2 separate regions of the Homo sapiens genome follow, and region 1 is linked to region 2. Evidence: promoter capture Hi-C in human tissues and cell types (Jung and others, 2019). All regions are on one chromosome and are shown on one strand. The core of a region is centred on a gene start or on the middle of the fragment in contact, and the rest is flanking DNA. Distances in the headings are between cores, read along the strand shown. Region 1 has its middle 31 kb from the start of ECE1-AS1. Region 2 holds the start of USP48 (ubiquitin specific peptidase 48).

Region 1 (2,825 bases), core at 74-2,573, 460 kb after region 2:
AAATCACTGCGCTAGGGGAAGCTGGCAGCAAGTTTGGAAACAAGGTGGCTGGCGAAAGTGCCACCGGCAGCTTCGGAGAGCAGCCGGGGCACCCCTTGAGCCTCTGGGTGGCGTCGGGACAGTAGGCAGGACTCCCTGTGTGTTGATGCTCTGCTGCCGCCCCTTCTCGTTGCTTCTCGTACCTGTTTCATGTCTGCTCCGTGGAGCAGGAGGTGGGAACCACAATTTATTGAGCATTAACTTTGAGCTAAGCTGTGTGCTGAGCAATGAATGCATTGACTCAATTCATACCTCAGTCAGCTCCAAGGAAGTGGGTCCTATTGTGTCCCCATTTAATAGGTGAGGAGGCTGAGGCTTGGTGAGGTGAGGTGACTCGGCCAAGGCCACACAACTCCTGACTCTGTTTTTGCAGGCTTCTGTAGAGCATCTGACTTCAAGGCTGAGTGTGTTTTGCTTGTGGCTGAAAAAGACCAGGGACAGCGAGGAGGGAGGAGGCCAGCAAAAGAGGATGAGAAGCCTGCATGGGGAGCAGGGAGTGCCCTTTCTGGTGTGGGGACAGGCAGCTGGAAGCAAATTTCAATCTGGATGAGGAACTGGCACTGTTCTGTCCTCTGGCCCCTCTTGCCCCTTAATTGTGACGTTACTTCTCACCGCTGAAGGGGAACCGCTCGAGACGCTGGCTTGTCCTGGCACCTGCCTTGAGCAGAAGCTCAGAGAAAGATGCATGGAGGGAAAGAGTGGGGAGCAGAAACAAGCCATCAGGTACCAGGTTGGTGGTCCTGGAGCCAGTTTATGGTTCATCTAGTCACAAGGGCCCCGTCTCTGTGTTTAGTGTCAGCTAATGAAGAAATTGAATCCAGTACACAAAATTGGATTTTGCAGTTTTGCAACCAGTCTCAACCCCCCTCTATTGTGTAACGTGTTTCTTTAGAGAAGGAAACCCACAACAAAACATGTGTGCTTTCCTCCTGGCGACCTCTGATACCTCCATTGAAGACATGGCTTAACGAGAACTGTTTTTCTCCTTCTTTCGTGATTTGTGACTTTTCTTGCAGGCTCCAGGTGGCAGTGAGTCAGCCATAAAGCTCGTTCAGGAAAGTCCAGAGGAATTTTTCTTCTGCATCAGGTTCAACTTGAGCAGTGCTGGGTGACGCCCAGTGACACACTCGGTTGGGGAAGGAGAGGCTGGCACACTCCACTAGCTGCTTATCTCTGCCACCTCCGCCTCCATTTGTCCCTGGCTTCCTGGGGCCCAGAGCCATCTCTGCCAGAGCAGGGAGGCCGATTAAGTGACCCGCGGGCTCCTTCTGCCTGACTCAGCTCAGCTCCAGCCCTCTCTGGGGAGAATGAGTCATTTTTTCAACCCTGAAATGTTTCTCTTCATGTGGGAAAGGGGCGGGGGTGGGGAGAGCCCCTCCTGGTCCTCTCCAAACTTGTTCCTCAGCTCTGAGGGACACTTCAGCCACAGACAAAGGGATTCTAGGGCAGCTCTGGAGAGGGCAGTCAGACCTGAAGTCAGTAAACCACAGCTGTGGCAGCCGTTGGAGTCTCCCTGGACAGAAGCACACTGGGCTGAGTGGGTGGAGTGTCCCTGTCAGTCCCGCACTGATGGATGGTTTCTCCCTTGGGGATGGGCCTCTGCCCCCTGCTTCCTCTGCCCACCCAGTTAAGAAGCTATATGAGCCCGGGTGTGGTGGTGCACATCTGTAGTCCCAGCTACTTGGGAGGCTGAGGCAAGAGGATCGCTTGAGCCCAGGAGGTCAAGGCTGCATGAGCTATGGTCGAGGCTGCATGGGCTATGGTCAAGGCCGCACTCCAGCTTGGGCAACAGAGTGAGACCTTGTCTCTTTAAAAACAAAACAGGCCGGGTGAAGTGGCTCATGCCTGTAATCCCAGCACTTTGGGAGGCTGAGGCAGGTGGATCACTTGAGGTCAGGAGTTTGAGGTCAGCCAGACCAACATGGCAAAAACCCATCTCTACTAAAAATACAAAAAAATTAGCCGGGCATGGTGGTGCATACCTGTAATCCCAGCTACTCAAGGAGGCTGAGGCAGGAAAATAGCTTGAAACCCGGGTGGTGGAGGTTGCAGTGAGCCGAGATTGCACCATTGCACTCCAGCCTGGGCAATGGAGTGAAACTATGTCTCAAAAAAAAAAAAAAAAGAAAGAAAATTGCCCCCATCTCCCATTTTCTGTCTCCCTTCACTACCTCATTGCTCCCCTTAGCCCCTCCCACAGTCTAACATGCTGCATATTTGATTTGTCTTATTTATTCTGTCTCCTACTAGCATATAAGTTTCATGAAGGCAAGGCTTATTTTATTTTATTTTATTTTATTTTATTTTATTTTTAGTTTTTTGGGACGGGGTGCCACTCCGTTACCCAAGCTGGAGTGCAGTGGCACAATCACAGCTCTTTGCAGTCTCGAACTCCCAGGCTCAGGTGATCCTCCCATCTCAGCCTTCCAAAGTGCTGGGGTTACAGGCATGAACACTGCACTTGGCCCAAAGGCAAGGATTTTGTCTGTTTTGTTTCCTGCTATATCTGTCGAGAACAGTGCTAACACGTAGTAGGCACACGATTTTAAAGAGGGTAAGAGGAAAATGAATGAGTGAATGGATGTGAGCCCCTGGCAGAGTATCCGGCCTGCAGTCAGGGCTATTGTGTATTTTGATCCATAACCCTCCCCCCGCCGGTTCCAGCTGTGTTGTTCTGGGAGGCTAGGGCCTTTCTCCACCTACGCCCTCAAGGTCAGCTTATCCACTCTTGAGGTTTCATGCTTAATTTTTATATTTGAGCTTCTCATACCAGTGTGTGAGATTGC
Region 2 (2,738 bases), core at 112-2,611:
TCAAGTACCCCGAAGCCTCCCAAGACTGGGATGGGGATCTTTGTATTTCTACCGCTCACTCCCTAACCCACTTCCAAGGGCAGGGACCACATCTTACTTTCTTCTGCCTTCAGCGAATTTTTTTGTTTTTTTTGAGACGGAGTTTTACTCTTGTTGCCCAGGCTGGAGTGCAATGGCGTTATCTCGGCTAACCACAACCTCCGCCTCCCGGGTTCAAGCGATTCTCCTGCCTCTGCCTCCCGACTAGCTGGGATTACAGGCATGCGCGACCGCGCCTTGCTAATTTTGTATTTTTAGTAGAGACGGGGTTTCTCCATTTTGGTCAGGCTGGCCTCGAACTCCTGACCTCAGGTGATCCGCCCACCTCGGCCTCCCAAAGTGCTGGGATTGGATCCTTGAGCCACGGTGCTCGGCCCAGTGAATGTTTATCTAAAGAATTCAGCCTAAGGTTTTCCAGCAGGCAAGCAGCTGAGTCAGAAGTTAGCGCTTAGATTCTGGCAGAGCTCTAATTCAAATTCAAAATTCTTAAATATCCTCACTTTAGTAGAGTTCTTTACAGTTTGCAAAACAATTCTCATAAAGCTACTCTTTATGTCCTGGGGCAGGAGTCGCAGAAAGGAAATGTTTTAAACCAGGAGCTAGAGAGGAACTAGAAAATCCTGGCATAGAGGTAACAGTCTTGAGAAGGGAGCCAACAGCAAACATGACCTTGCGCACCAGAGAAACTCCACCCTGGCACCTCGGACCCCCGCCCGCACAGTCTGCGGCGCACTGAGCACTCCCACCTCGAAGACTACAAATCCCAGCATGCCTCACAGTCAGTGGCAGGACGCAGGGCATGCCGGGACACGTAGTCCCACCCTAGCACGGGAAAAGGCCGGAAGGTCCCATGACGTCAGGAGGGCTCGGGAAAGGGGTTCGGAACCGGTCTAGGCTCAAGTTAAATCTCCCTCTAAAGAGCCAACACTGGTTTCTTTGGCGACTCGGTTTCTACTCTAAACAGGTCCCGCTCCACAGTCTGGGCGGGCCTGTGTGTGCGTTGAGTAGCCTCTAGCGTGAAAACTTCATGGTTAAAAGGGAAGTACCGGAGGCAAGAAATAGCTTTCGAGGCACTGGTTTGTTAGAGTAGTGGTACGTAGTGCGCCGCCCTGAACGGGGGCTGAGACGCTGCTTTTCCAGAAGTGCCAGTGAGGACGTGGCAAGACCGCCTCGGACGTACGCTTCCTCTACCTCAGCCCGTCGGGTTAGGGGCGCGGGAGGCGCAGAGGCTGCTGGGAACGCGCATGCGCTCAGCGCGGCGGGGAGTCCACCTTTAACGTCCGCGGGCGCGGGGTGTGTCGGGTGTCGACGGCGGCGCTTTGCGGCCGGTCGTGCGGGTCGGGCGCGGGCGGGCGCGGCGGCAGTGGCGCGCACAGGTGATTGACTGGCCAGCTGCCTGAAGGAGCGCCAGGTCCTCCTTGCTGGCAGGTGGCGAAGCCCATTGGGGCGGCGGTGCAGACCGCGGCGGCGGCTGCGGCGGTCTGGCTCGGGAGGCGTTCCTGGGGCCAAGGCCATGGCCCCGCGGCTGCAGCTGGAGAAGGCGGCCTGGCGCTGGGCGGAGACGGTGCGGCCCGAGGAGGTGTCGCAGGAGCACATCGAGACCGCTTACCGCATCTGGCTGGAGCCCTGCATTCGCGGCGTGTGCAGGTGAGGCCCGCGCACCGCGCCTCGCGGGCTCCTCGCGCCGGACCTTGGAAAGCCCGGGCGGGGTAGGGGAAAGGAAGACGGCAGCCCTTTGCGTGCATTTGGGAGGCGCGGAGCCGAGCGAGGTGGAGTTTCCCCCTTTGCGCCGTCTGCGCGACCTGGGAAACGCAGGCTTCCCGGGCTGTGCGCGGAGGTGATGCTGGCCAAAGCACTTTAGGAAGGTTTGGGTTCCCATCCAGAAGATGGCGGTGGAGATGAAGGCAGGAGCTGAGAGCTTAGCAAGCGTTGATGGTTGGGGTATCTTGGCCACAGCACGGCTCTTTCGTTTGTAAAAAGGAACTTTTTGGAAGTGAGCTTCATCACAGTGTATCTTGTTGGTGTTGACACCGAAGGCCTGATCATCTTAGTATTATTTTTGTAGAGGGCAGCTTTAGAAAAAACTGTGGTCAGCCTACGTCATCGATACCCTGCACCCCCGTTGGCCTTCCCTCACTCGTTAATCTAGTATTTTTTTTAAGCCTTTCTTTGGTCGTTCTGGTTCGACACCAGTTTACCGAGTACCAAGTTTAAGCTGTGATAGTGCTGTCCTTCACGTCTGCGCCGCCCTTGAACTTTACCTTTCCTTAACCCCCTCATATAGATTGAATCCTTAGGCTTTGCTCCCGTTTATTCCCTTTTTTCCACCTTGTAACGCGGGAACTATAGTTTTTGTTTCAGAATGTTGTTGAAATTGACTTGGCCAAGCCGGGCATGCTCAGTAGCCGTCTTTCGGCAGGCATTTAGGAAATGCTTTCTGGAGTTTTTACATTCCGCTGGGGGATCCGGAAGGAATGGAAGTCATGGTCTCTGGCTTTGGAGCTTAAAGTCTAGTATGAGAAGTGAAATAAGTTAGGGAGTTTCTATAAAGCAAACGAATAAGTCCAAGCTCTGGGCGTCTGTCTCACAAGGAGGGTAAATCTGACTTTAACAGTAAGTTCTGGAATGTTTGAAGTCTGTGTATAATAGAAATAATCAAGCTTCAGTCAGTTTCTCAACGTAATTAGTTTCCAGACTAA

The links. Contacts are between HindIII fragments. The study calls those that stand out against the background at their distance.
Region 1: a fragment that was not itself captured here is called in contact with the fragment with the promoter of USP48 in region 2 in 1 of the 25 tissues and cell types used here (dorsolateral prefrontal cortex).

The regions. Positions count from the first base shown.
Region 1 is chr1:21,323,159-21,325,983 of GRCh38, reverse strand. It overlaps a transcript of ECE1 not described here. Among named protein-coding and RNA genes, the nearest start is that of ECE1-AS1, 31 kb to the right of the region's middle. RefSeq lists an enhancer at 1,707-2,267. The HindIII fragment of the contact is 5,859 bases long and covers 1-2,825 here.
Region 2 is chr1:21,781,772-21,784,509 of GRCh38, reverse strand. It overlaps USP48 (ubiquitin specific peptidase 48), which reads left to right and starts at 1,361. Exons shown (of 27, transcript NM_032236.8): 1 at 1,361-1,686. The coding sequence starts at 1,553. RefSeq lists enhancers at 978-1,027, 773-1,543, 1,968-2,067, 1,544-2,315, 2,628-2,677 and a silencer at 1,238-1,597. The HindIII fragment of the contact is 7,275 bases long and covers 1-2,738 here.